Regions from separate parts of the Homo sapiens genome. Here region 1 is linked to region 2. Evidence: promoter capture Hi-C in 16 types of primary human blood cells and fetal thymus (Javierre and others, 2016). All regions are on one chromosome and are shown on one strand. Each heading gives the region's core, a stretch centred on a gene start or on the middle of the fragment in contact. The rest is flanking DNA. Distances are from core to core; before and after follow the strand shown.

Region 1 (6,649 bases), core at 1,968-4,467, 2.8 Mb before region 2:
TAAGCATTGTTAGAGAATCTGAGATGGATTAGTATTGATAGCTGTGTCATTTTCTTAGAAAGAGTGAATAAAGACATAGAATAAAAAGGGATTGTCTTTCCTACCAAAGACAGGAATATGGATCTGGTCACACTCTTAAGTTTTCTTTCAGTTCCTGCCTTCTTGAGTTATACTCACATTGAATAAGCAAACATAAAATCATAGTTTATTGCCTTAAGAGGAGTTATGGGAGACTACTGCTAGCTATATTTTGTACTCCAGTTAATGAAGACTCACCTCCTGTTATGCCAACTAACTCCTCTATGTAGCTAGAAGGACCTCAAACCTATAATCAGATCCTGCCTCCCCTTACCAAAAGAATAAAGAAACCGCAAATGGCAAAGACAGGCCTCCACAGGAAGTGGCAAAGGAAGCAGCTTTCAGGCAGTCTTCTAGCATATCTGCATATCAAACACAGTTCTTTTTCAGACCTTTAATTAAAAACAAAACAAAACAAAACTCTAAATGTATACAATAAAAATCAATTTAAACTATTTAGAGGGCAATATACTGAGTGCTGATAGTGTATGTTCTCTAAGTTTTGTGTATGTCATTTTTTTCTAATCAAGTAGTTGTTTTATTCACGGAAGCAGTGAATGAATATCACACTTTGGATTTCCTATATGTGTGTGGAATCACCAAGTGGAAAGGTAATGAAATGCAGGCTCTATTAATATTTTTAAAAATATGGCCAGGCACCGTGGCTCACGCCTGTAATCCCAACACTTTGGGAGGCCAAGGCAGGCAGATCACTTGAGGCCAGGAGTTTGAGACCAGCCTGGCCAATATGGGGAAACCTCTAATAAAAATACAAAAATTAGCTGGGCATGGTGGTGCACACCTGTAAATTCCAGCTACTCGGGAAGCTGAGGCATGAGAATCGCTTGAACCTGGGGAGGGGAGGTTGCAGTGAGCTGGGATGGAGGCACTACACTGCAGCTTGGGCAACAGAGTGAGACTCCATCTCAAAAAAAGATAAAAAACTGCCATGGGCGGTGGCTCTCGCCTGTAATCCCAGCACTTTGGGAGGCTGAGGCGGGTGGATCACCTGAGGTCGGGAGTTTGAGAACAGCCTGGCCAACATGGTGAAACCCCGTCTGTACTAAAAATACAAAAACTAGCTGGGCGTGGTGATGCATGTCTGTAATCTCAGCTACTCAGGAGGTTGAGGCAGGGAATTGCTTGAACCCGGGAGGCGGAGGTTGCAGTGAGCCAAGAACGCACCACTGCACTCCAGCCTGGGCGACAGAACGAGACTCCGTCTCAAAAAAAAAAAAAAAAGATAAATAAAAATTTAAAAAAATAAAATATACTCCTCTAATGTGATAATCTATTGAGGCTAAATATATATATACTCTATTATAGAAGAAAAAACAGAATCTTGACTAATTTTTATATTTTCTCCCTTCAAGATCAGAAACTGAAACTGTAAGATAAAGGTAATAAAGTCCCTTCTGAAGGAAGGCCAAATAATTTGAACCAGACAACATTTCAATATTAAAGCTCCAAGTCAAAAGACAGAGATGAGTGTCTGCGTATTTAAATCAGCAATGCCCGCTGCATCTTATAATCCTCCTAGTGGCCAAATGGGGAACTGACCAGATGGTACCCAATGGGACTTCACACCTGAGTGATCAAGAGAAAAATAAGCAATTACAGTCCCCTCCCACACAACGAAACGAAAATAATAACAAAAACACCCACAAAAACAGGCCTGTGGGGTCATGGGCTGTTGAAAATCAATAAGTAAATAAATAAATGGCGCTGAAAGGACACTCTTGACCACAAAGCAAGATCTCAGAGGCCAGATGACTTGTTTTATAGGCAGTTAAAGCTAATAAAACCCAGAGACATACAGCCCTAAAGGTCACTCATTTTGTTTTACTTTTAACACTGCCTCAATTTCCAAGCCAAAACCTGAAACCAAACCAAACCAAAAATGTAAATAGATAGCTGCCTGAACATGGGCTGGGAAGACAGGTAAACGGTGAGATTCAGGTCTAAAGGGATTCCATTTTAAAAGGAAAGCAGTTCTGTCTGTCTTCAGAGCAAGGTTAAGAGTCCTCGGGAAGGTGCAACGTCTCCCCTGAACACTGTCTCTGCTCTCCCACAGGTATTAGGTTGCAGCGTCTAGGGCACACCACAGACTTTGGCAAGAAAAAAAACGAGTGAAATCTCAGCTTGATGAAAAGAGAGTGCGTTCCCACCTCCAGCTCTGGTGCAGTTCCCACGGAGCAAAGCAAACTCGACTGAATCCAAGTGATCTGTATCTGCCAAAAAGGAGAGGACAAGAAAGCTGGTCACTTAGCCGCCTGGCTGTTCACCTGACCCCTGGGGTTGGGTCTGGGGCGTGTCTAATCAGCCGAGATGGTCCCTCTGCTTCTTCAAGCATGAGCCCAGGTAAATTCCCAGGAATTACCAGACAAGAGCCTGACAAGAGCCGGAGGTCTTCCGAGGCGGCTCAGACAAACCCTTAGACAACACAATCTCCGAAATCTAAATTTAGAAGCTTTTCTGCGAGACCCAGACGCGGGGACTGATACCCCCCGGTCTGCACGCCCACGCCCATCCTCCCCTCCCCCAGCTCCACCCAAGGCTGTCAGACGCCGGGGCCGTCCCCGCCGGGGCCCGAGGAGGCGGGGTGCCCGCGGCCCGCGCAAAAGCCCCCCGGCCCCGCACCCCGCGCCCCGCGCCCGAGAGCGCCAAGGGGCAGCAGGAGGAGCGGCCGGGGAGGAATTGGGGTTGGAAGCGGGGAGGGTGAGCCCGGGCTGCCCCCCTAGGCCGGAGCTGGCCCCCGGCCCTCTCCCCAGTGCAGACAAAAGGACCAACAGCCGGCGGCCGCGAGGGGGCGAGGAGCCCGCATCCCCAGCCCGGACCCGGAGGGAGGGCAGGGGGTCTTTTTACCCGGCGCCTCGGCGCTGCGCTGCGCTCTGGGTCCCTGGGCCCCGCCTCCGGACAGACGGACCGCCGGACAATGGACCCGGGACCGCAGCCCAAGCCAGCCGGGCCGGGGCGCTCCGGGACTGGGCCCCGGCGAGCGGAAGGGGCTCCGGGCCGAGCCGAGCCGGTGGCGGGGAGCCGAGGGGCGGCGCTGCAGACGGACAAAGCCAACAGCAGACAGACAGACGGAGGGGGAAAAAGATGGCGACGCGGGCGGCGGGAGCGCGCGGCTCGCGCACCCGCAGCTAGTGAGGCGCGTGCACGAGCCTCCCTCTCCCCCTCCCCCGCGCCGGCCAGGTCCCCTTCCCCGCGGCCCGGCGCGCGCCTGGCGTTGTGGGCGGGGCCTGAGGAGAGGGGCTCTGGAGAGGAGGGGCTCCGGGGAGCGCCCAATCCCGGGCGCCCGAGAGGGGCTCGCCCGCGTTCCAGGGCTCCGGAACCCCCCGCCTCGCCCATTCCCGGGTCTTTCTCTGGCTGTCTCAGCCGCTCAGCTCCCCCAGACCTTCCTGGACGTGTAAACGCCACCCTACCCAGCCCCGATCCTGGTTTCTTACCCCACCATCGAGTTCAGCCACAAAACCCACAACCCCCAACCACAGCTCCGCCGCAGGCACCCCCTCTCCTTAGCCCGGATCCCCACCACCGTCACAAACCCTCTTCGCCTCATTCCCCCACGCTTCGCGGTGGCTTCGGCTCCCGAGGCTTTGAATGTGACCACGGGCCTTGGTGGGAGGGGCCAAGTTCAGCTGTCAGAACCTCAGAGCTGGGAAATCTTGAGATTTCTTTTGAGTATTTAATTTTCTGACATGATTCTCAACTGATAAAATAACATTGGCTGCAGACCCAGGGGCAGGGGAACTTGTGGCACTGTTGTCACTTGAGGGATGTTTGGGGGCAATGGAGAGCCGTTGGACCTTTTTTTTTTTTTTTTTTTTGAGACAGAGTCTCGCTCTGTCACCCAGGCTGCAATGCAATGGCGCGATCTTCGCTCACTGCAACCTGCGCCTCCCAGGTTCAAGCGATTCTCGTGCTTCAGCCTCCCGAGTAGCTGGGACTACAGGCGTGCACCACCACGCCCAGCTAATTTTTGTATTTTTAGTAGACGGGGTTTCACCATGTTGGCCAGGCTGGTCCCGAACTCCTGACCTCAGGTGATCCTCCCGCCTCGGCCTCTCAAAGTGCTGGGATTACAGGCGTAAGCCACTGTGCCCGGCCTGGTTGGACGCACTTCTAGTCAAACACCTCCTCCTGTCCACGTCCTTCTCTCTCCTAGTTCCTGTTGCCTTCTTTTCTTCCTCTCTTCTAGAATGCCTGAGCCTGCCCTGGCATCGCTTACCTGGAGAAGCAGGGAATGCAGAGGAAAGAAGATGAGATCTGGTATTAGAAGATCTGGCTTTGAGCCCCAGCTCTGCCACCCACCAGCCTGTTGACTTTGGGCAAGTCACTTCCCTGTTCTGAGCCTCTGCTTCCTAAGATGTCAAATGGATAATGATGCAATAATTCCTGGCCTTTACTCTCCGAGGGTTGTTGTGCCAGTTAAGTAAAACAAATGGCTAAAAGCATCATGCAAATGTTTTTCGTGATTACTGGCTGCACAAAGGCAGGGCTAACGAGGATGCTGTCATTTGCTGATAAAGTGACAAGTCCTGGTATTTGCATAGAACATTCTTGCAAATTGTCTTTCCCCTAAATCTTTTATGAGATGATCTCATTGTCTGCATCTTGTGTTCAATGTAATAGAATGATTACATTGAGGGATCTTGGTCCTTCACAATTCTGTGATAAATAGCTCATTCATCATTCACTCATTTATTTATTGTGATTAGGATACTTAGATAGCAATTATTGTTGTTTAACTTCAGTCAAGGAAACATTTTAATTTCATTTAAAAACTTAGTTTCCAAGTAGACAGAAAATGGAATATTATCATCCAACCCGCAAGTGTTTGTACTATTTTGTGTAAGAATACAACCTAGAATACACACTGGCTTTTATATTTAACAGTAATTCTTGATCAGTTTGGACTGAGGGATACAAGTATGGCTTTATTATGTCACTTTAAAGCTGACTTAGTTGACATTTTCAACAGAAAAGTAGCAAACAGGTAAAGTTTGCCTCCAGTGAAATTTCTTGGATGCATTATTATTATGTAATGTTGGGCAGCTTATTCCATCTCCTTGACTTCCAAATAAAATGAGATGATAATAATGCTATTCTTATGACTTCCCTGTGCTCTAAAAATTTCTCAGAGGTGTTGTGATTCAAGGTTACAACCAAATAATGAAAAAATTATTAAATACGTAATTAGTTTAAGTTAGGCATGGTGGCTGGCACCTATAGTCCCAGCTACTCAGGAGGCTGAGATGGTATGATGACTTGAGCCCAAGTGTTTGAGGCCAGCTTGGGCCACATAGTGAAACCCTTGTCTCTTTAAAAAAGAAGAATTAATTTATTTTTCCTCTGCTTTCACCTAAACTTGTTCTACATCTAGAAGACCTTTTAATTAACCATATATATTTTTTTAGCTTCACTTTTTTCTACTTTCCCAATCTACTCACAGTTATGTCATCATTTTGCCACTTCAACTATTTAACTTTCCACTTGAAATATCTTCCTAATCCATTTTATATTTGTTGGCTTCTACAATGACCTTGTTAGGGCTCTATATTCCAACAATAAAGGTAGGAGGATTTTAAGAACCTCATGTTACATTTTTTTAAATTAAGGTATAATTCACATACCATGAAACTCATGCTTTTAAAGTGTACAATTCAGTGGGTTTTGGTACATTCACAGGGTTGACAACATCACTAGTATCTAATTCCGGAATATTTTCATCACCCCAAAAAGAAATCCCATACCCAGTAGCAGTAACTCACCATTCTCCCTTCCTCCAGCTCCTGGCACCCACAAATCTACTTTCTGTCTGTGTGGATTTGCCTATTCTGGACATTTCATATAAATGTGATTGATTATACAGTATGGGACCTCTCGTGTCTGGCTTTTGTCACTTAATCTGGCTTTTGTCACTTAATAGGTTTTCAAGGTTCATTCATGTTGTAGCATATATCAGTACTTAATTCCTTTTTATGGCTGAATTATATTCTGTTGTATGGATATGCCACATTTTATTTATCCATTCATTAGTGGAACGATATTTGGCTTGGGCCTACTTTTTGGCTACTATGCATAATGCTACTATGAACATTTGTGTACAGTTTTTGTGTAAACATATGTCTTTACATTATGTATGGACATGGGTGCATACATATATCTAAGAGTGGAATTGCTTGGTCAAATGGTAACTCTATATTCAACCTTTTTTTTTTTTTTTTTTGAGACCGAGTCTTGCTCTGTCGCCCAGGCTGGAGTGCAGTGGCGCGATCTCGGCTCATTGCAAGCTCCACCTCCTGAGTTCACGCCATTCTCCTGCCTCAGCCTCCCAAGCAGCTGGGACTACAGGTGCCCGCCACCACGCCCGGCTAATTTTTTTTGTATTTTTAGTAGAGACGAGGTTTCACCGTGTTAGCCAGGATGGTCTTGATCTCCTGACCTCGTGATCCGCCCGCCTCGGCCTCCCAAAGTGCTGGGATTACAGGCGTGAGCCATCGCGCGCAGCCCTCTGTGTTCAACTTTTTGAGGAAGTGCTAAACTGTTTTCCTAAGTGGCTGCA
Region 2 (7,027 bases), core at 2,238-4,737:
TTCAAGGAAGGAACAATTGAGTGTCAAGTGCTACTGGGGGGAAGAACGGCCGCTAGATTTGGCAACATGAGGATGACAGGTGACCTAAAAAAGCAGTTTCCCTGAAGTGGTGGGGTCAGAGGCCAGACTGGTGCAGGCTGAATAAATGGAAGGAATTCTAATAAACATAGTGGACGAAGTACATATATGTATCTTTCTCTCTCCACTCCAGTCATTCCTAAAACCCACGAACATGACCCCCACAACCTGAGACATTTTTTTAAGAAAGGATAAATTAACCAGGACGACACAAATGCAAACAGGGTATGATATGCAAACCAGTTTTTTAAGGCCATAAAGGAGAAACTGATGATTGATGACTGCTTAGCAGAGCCAAAAGATAAAACTCAAAGCCTGCAAAGGGCACAGTGGTTGGGGTGAGGTGTGTTATTGAGAAGCAAGCTGATTCCCACTAAAGGGACTGTAAAAACCAGGTACCACAAAAGGCAATATTGAAAGATGGCGCTAAAAGAGAAGGGCTGGTTAAAAGCCAGTAAAGCAGTTAGCTTGACTCCTACTCAAACACCAGCCAGCTAAAACAAAACACAGAACAAAGCCCTTCTCCCCCTATGCACGAGAAAACTGGAGGTTTGAACCACACAGGCTTACACTCAGGATGGAGAGTGGCACAGTACTGAAAATAAGTGGGAAAGAAAGTCTGCAAACTGAACAATGTGAGATACTTCAAGTTTTAAACATTTTTTGTATAGATGGGGTTTCCCACGTTGCCTAGGCTGGTCTTCAACTCCTCGGCTCAAGCAACCCTTCTGCCTCAGCCTCCCAAAGTGCTGGGATTACAGGAGTGAGCTACTGCAGCTGCCTAACTAAAAGCTTTTAATGTTTCTAGGGTACAACGACAGTCTCCCAAGAATTGTGTGTCAGAACATAAGGCCCAAGCTACTTCTAGATGTACTCAAGAGACATTAAGCAACTCAGCCTTCAGGAAGACAAAGGGGAGAAATGGACTAAAAAGAGCAGAATCTAGGGGGCCGCACTGTCTACTCCCATATGGTTATTTAAATTAAATAAAAATCAAATTCGGCCAGGAGCTGTGGCCCACGCCTATAATCCCAGCACTTTGGGAGACTGAGGCAGGTAGCTGGAGACCAGGAGTTGGAGACCAGCCTGGGCAACACGGCAAAACCCCGTCTCTACAAAAAATACAAAAAAATTAGCCAGCCGTGATGGTGTGCACCTGTGGTCCTAGCTACTTGGGAGGCTGAGGCAGGAGAACCCCTTGAACCCGGAGAGTGGAGGTTACATTGAGCCGAGATCACGCCACTGCACTCCAGACCGGGAGAGAGAGTAAGACTCCGTCTAAAAAAAGAAAAAAGAAAGAAATAAAATAAGTTCCTTTGTCGTGCAGGTCACATTTCAACTGCTAGAAACACACATAGGGCGGGTGACTCCCATACTGGACAGCAGAAATACAGAACACTTTTCTCGTCGCACAAAGTTCTATGGAACGGTGCAGTTCTGGAGCTGAAGCTTCCTAACCACTGTAGGCCAGTCGGAGGTGCCTAGAACGAGAGACCATGGGCTGGGCACCCCAAACCTTGAGGATGTCACACAAACGCTGTTTTTTATGTGTGCTGTGAGCGGTGCTTAAAATGTCAACCTCAGACTTGTCATCTTTGTTACTCAGGTTTCAATCAATGGCCACAACAGGCAGGACGAAAGCCCCTCAATTAAAGGTTGAGAAGAGGTGGGCGGGGGAAGTGTTCAAATCTTTGCTCTGGCCGGTGCAGAGGGTCACGCCTGTGATCCCTGGACACTGAAATGCCCAGGCGGATGGATCACTTACGCTCTGGTGTTCCAGACCAGCTTGGGCAACACAGTGAAATTCCCATCTCTACCAAAAAAGAAAAATAGAACAGGTCAGGCGCGGTGGCTCACACCTGTAATCCCAGCACTTTGGGAAGCCGAGGGCAGACCACTTGAGGTCGGAGTCCCAGAATGGCCAATATGGTGAAACCCCGTCTCCACTAAAAATACAAAAACTACCCGGGTGTGGTGGCGCATGCCTGTAATCCCAGCTACTTGGGAGGCTGAGGCAGGAGAATCGCTTGAACCCGGGAGGCAGAGGTTGCAGTGAGCCGAGATCGCACCACTGCACTCCAGCAGGGGCAACAAAGCGAGACTCTATCTCAAAAAAAGAAAGAAAAAAGAAAAATAAAACAATGAGCCGGGCGTGGTGGCGCGCACCTGTGGTCCCAGCTATTGCGGGAAGCCGAGGTGGGAGGATCCCTGGGGCCCGGGAGTTCGAGACTGCAGTGAGCTCTTCCAGCCTGGGTGCAACAGGGAGACTTTTCTTTCTTTCTTTCTTTCTTTTTTTGAGATGGAGTTTCACTCTTGTTGCCCAGGCTGGAGTGCAATGGCGTGATCTCAGCTCACTGCAACCTCGGCCTCCCGGGTTCAAGCGATTCTCCTGCCTCAGCCTCCCGAGTAGCTGGGAAATGGGGTTTCTCCATGTTGGTCAGGCTGGTCTCGAACTCCTGGCCTCAGGTGATCCGACTGCCTCGGCCTCCCAAAGTGCTGGGATTACAGGCCTGAGCCACCGCTTTTCTCTTTATAACACCTTTTTCTCTTTATAACAGGAAAAAGGGAGGAAGAGAGAGGGAGAGGGAGAGGCGGAGGGGGAAGAGGAGGGAGAGGGAGACGGGAGGGGAAGGGAGAGAGGGAAAGAAGGAAATTAAATCCCTGTTCTTTTACTACATGGGGAAAGAAAGACATAGATAGATTAGATAGACAGATTAGATAGATAGATAGATAGATAGATAGATAGATAGATAGATTGATTAGATACATAGATATTAAATCCCTGTTCTTTTACTACATGGGGAAACTTTGGGCGGGTTTCCTAAACTCGGCTCAACTTGTTCTCCTGTAAAACAGGGATAATACAAGTCTTTACTCCACAGTTTCCGTGATGAAATTAAAAATGAAGTTCTTCCATCAACTTTAAAGTGATGAAGTAATCGGCGCTCAGAGCGGGCGCAGGCAACGCCGCTGAGGAGCCCGAGGCTAGGCTCTCGGGGGAAGGGCCGGGCGACCTCCCACCCCGGCCAGGGCAGGCCCCGCAGCAGCGAACTCGGCTCCTTCAGTGATCGCCCCGAGCTCTCGCCTGCCCAGCCCCCACGCCCAGCAACCCAGATACGCGCGGGGGTTCGGGCTCCTTAGCCCCGACCACTGGCGCCGCCCCGAGGGCCCGAATCCCCTCAGGCCGCCGGGTTCCAAGCCCGCGTGCAGCCCACCTCGTGGGGTGTCTCCTGAATCCCAATCCAGGAATCAGGCGTGGGGAGGTTTATCCCGAAGCTAGAGGCCCAAGGCCTGAGGAGAAGCAACACCCCTCCTCACCTGAAACCAGCAGGCCGCGGCCGGGCTCGCGAGCCCGCCGAAGACTCGGTAGTTACCTCGGCCGCACTCCGAATGCACCTACGCCAACTGCCACTTCCGGAGCCGCTCAAGCTCCCGCCAGAGCCGCCGGCAGGCATGCTCCTATTGGACAGAAGCCCTACGCTGTGGCCAATACCCACTCTTCTTCTTCAATGGGTCCCCCGATAGCTGAAGCAGCGGTGCTCTCATTGGCTGGTAGTTCGTCCTGACGAGGCGGGACCGCGCTTGAGGAAGCCTCCTACAATTGGCAGGAATCTACGTCCGTCACCTTGCACCCGCCCCGGAAAAAATGGGAGGTTTTTTTGTTTTTTTTTTGTTTGGTTTTTTTTTTTTTTTTTAGCGCGTTTTATTTGAACTTTCTGGCGGGAGAAAGTTATATGATTTCTCGGTCCATTTTGGAATGGGGATGATGATATTAAAACTGACTCCTGCTGCTTATCCCTAACGCTTTAGTGAAGGAGTTATCTGTATCCAAAGGATAGCAGCTAATCGAATAATTTCAAAATATTTCAATATTTTGAATTTCGGAGCCTGTAAAGAGGCGTAGGACAGTCCAGTTCATATGTATCCTCTCATGGGGTTGAAGAGCTCACGCAAAATACTTTGCCTACATAATCTCTTCAATCTCAAACCGCTGCAAGGGATCTGAGCTACTGAACAGTCTCAAATCACTTGTTAGGGCCGCCGCTCGCCGCCAGCGCCAAAAGAAAGGGGCCCCCGGAATTCTCCAGCTACGTACGAGGAGCGCGAGCCCACAGCCGTCTCGGCTCCGAGCCCGCCGCCGGCAGGAAAGCCACAAAGAAAACTGATAAACCCAGACAAGATGATAAAGACGATCTAGATGTAACAGAACTCACTAATGAAGATCCTTTGGATCAGCTTGTGAAATACGGAGTGAATTGTGGTCCTATTGTGGGAACAACCAGGAAGCTGTATGAGAAATAGCTTTTGAAACTGAGGGAGCAAGGAACAGAATCAAGATCGTCTCCTTCAGCAACAATTTCTTCTTCAGCAGAAAATACAAGGCAGAATGGAAGTAATGATTCTGACAGATATGGTGAAAATGAAGAAGACTCTAAATTGGGCTCAAGTTTGAGAAGAGAGAACCGCTAAACAGGGGAGTAAAGACTCCAGTAACCCTCAAGCAAAGAAGAGTTGAGCACAAGGAGAGCTATTCTCAAGCTGGAATAACTGGGACTGAATGGACAAGTGGATCTTCAAAAGGCGGACCTCTGCAGGCATTATTAACTAGGGAATCTACAAGAGGGTCAAGAAGAACTCCAAGCAAAAGGGTGCACGCTTCAGAATATTTTCGTATAGATGGAGCAGTAATTTCAGCGAGTACTCCCATAGCTGAAACTATAATTGCTTCAAACAACGAATCCTTAATTGTCAATAGGGTGACTGGAAATTTCAAGCATGCATTTCCTATTCTGCCAGTCACTGAATTCTCAGACATACCCAGAAGAACACCAAAGAAACCATTGACAAGAGCTGAAGTGGGAGAAAAAAAACACAGGAAAGAAGAGTAGAAAGGGATATTCTTAAGGAAATGTTCCCCTATGAAGCAACTACACCAACAAGAATTAGTGCTAGTTGCCGCAGAACAATCAAAGGAGCTGCAGGCCGGCCATTAGAACTCAGTGATTTGAGGATGGAGGAGTCGTTTTCATCTACATATGTTCCTAAGTATGTTCCCTTGGCAGACGTCAAGTGAGAAAATACAAAAAAAAGGGACGCTCCATTCCTGTATGGATAAAAATTTTGCTGTTTGTTGTTGTGGCAGTTTTTTTGTGTGTGTTTGGTCTATCAAGCTATGGAAACCAACCATGTAAATCCCTTCTCTAATATTCTTCCTGATGACTCTAGAAAACCCAACTGAATGGTATCTCTTTGGCACATTCAACTTGGTCTTGTATTTTTAGTAACTGTGTTGAAGAACATTCGTGTACGCTTTTTGACTCCAAGAACTAAAAATAATGTGATTTTGCCTCAATAAACGTAGTATTCCATTGGAAAGCAAACAAAAGATATATGAATGGACTTTATTAAAATGTTTTTGAACTTTGGACTAGTAGGAGATCACTTTGTGCCATATGAATAATCTTTTTTAGCTCTAGAACTTTTTTTTTTTTAGACAGGGTCTCGCTCTGTTGCCCAGGCTGGAGTGCAATGGCATGATTTCGGCTCACTGCAACCTCCACCTCCTGGGTTCAAGTGATTCTCCTGCCTCAGCCTCCTGAGTAGCTGGGATCACAGGCACGTGCCACTACGCCCACCTAATTTTTGTATTTTTAGTAGCGGTGGGGTTTCACTATGTTGGCCAGGCTGGTCCTGAACTCCTGACCTCAGGTGATCCACCCGCCTTGGCCTCCCAAAGTGCTGGGATTATAGGCGTGAGCCACCGCGCCCGGCCATAATGTTCATGATCTTGATAGAGTTTGGATTACTCATATGTATGCATTTGTCAAAACTCATCAAATGCTATCTTTAAGATTTGTGCATTTCACACAAATTTTTCACAGCAAAAACTTACCTTCCCACCCCCCCGCCAAAAAAAAGCTCATAGAGAGATAAACTCCAGTTAATGGCATAAATGCTGAAGTGTTTAGGAATGAAGTGCATAAAAAATCAGGATGAATTAATGGCTAGAAAGAGGCACAAGCAGATAAATAGGTATGTGATAAAACAAATATAATAAATTGTTAGTTGTAGAATTTAGGTGGTAGGTATATGGTTGTTCAGAGTACAATTGTACTGACTTTTCTGTGTATCTGGAAATTTTCATACATAAGTGTTGGGAAAAATCAGGTACAGGGCCTTGGAAGGCATCCTGTGCAAGTAAAAGGCCCTGAAGATTAAGCTTTATCAGGCTTATAGTAAATTCACCTATAATAATTGTGGGTCTGCCAGAGTATGAATAATTCATCTACCAGGGAGAATTTTCACTGTAACTCCTACAGTAAATAGAACAAATGATTTTAAAGATGAAAACAGTGGCTGGGCATGGTGGCTCATGCCTGTAATCCCAGCACTTTGGGAGGACAAGGTGGGCGGATCCCTTGAGGTCAGGAGTTCCAGACCAGCAGACCCTGCCTCTGAAAAAAAAGAAAAAAGAAAAAAGGAAGGAAGGAAAATAGTAAAATAGTAATACCTGCCAGTAAGTTCTACAAAATAATCATATTAAGTTTATATTCTTCTGCATTTTTTATTTATAGAAAAAAACCATGTTCTAGGTTTTAAAAAAATCAAGGATAAGTAAAAGATAAAAACATAAGGCCGAGTGTGGTGGCTTATGCCTGTAATCCCAGCACTTTGGGAGGCCAAGGTGGGAGTATCACTTGCGCCCAGAAGTTCAAGACTAGCCTAGGCAACACAGTGAAACCCTGTCTCATAATAATAATAATAATAGTAATAGAAATCAGCCATAATTTTCTTCACCAGAGATGATTACTAGAATACAAGACCCAAATGTATTTTTATTGCTGTCTTCTCAGTGATTGAAACAATGGACAGCACATTTGCTGTTGAATGATTTAGAATGAGTTCTGAAAAAAATGTAACTTTAAAGACAGGGATTAGTGTATCCTAG

What was found. The method cuts DNA at HindIII sites, captures the fragments that hold promoters and counts their contacts. A CHiCAGO score of 5 or more calls a contact.
Region 1: the fragment with the promoter of ZNF821 here is called in contact with the fragment with the promoter of RFWD3 in region 2 in 1 of 17 cell types (neutrophils); the score reaches 5.4 in neutrophils.

What each region holds. Positions count from the first base shown.
Region 1 is chr16:71,880,965-71,887,613 of GRCh38, forward strand. It overlaps ZNF821 (zinc finger protein 821), which reads right to left and starts at 3,218. Exons shown (of 8, transcript NM_001201552.2): 1 at 2,944-3,218; 2 at 2,247-2,309. RefSeq lists enhancers at 2,044-2,243, 4,084-4,584 and silencers at 2,604-2,723, 2,744-3,503. The HindIII fragment of the contact is 5,845 bases long and covers 2,547-6,649 here.
Region 2 is chr16:74,663,390-74,670,416 of GRCh38, forward strand. RFWD3 (ring finger and WD repeat domain 3) reads right to left here and starts at 3,488. Exons shown (of 13, transcript NM_018124.4): 1 at 3,397-3,488. It also overlaps the pseudogene TMPOP2. RefSeq lists a silencer at 3,018-3,167. The HindIII fragment of the contact is 4,771 bases long and covers 1,526-6,296 here.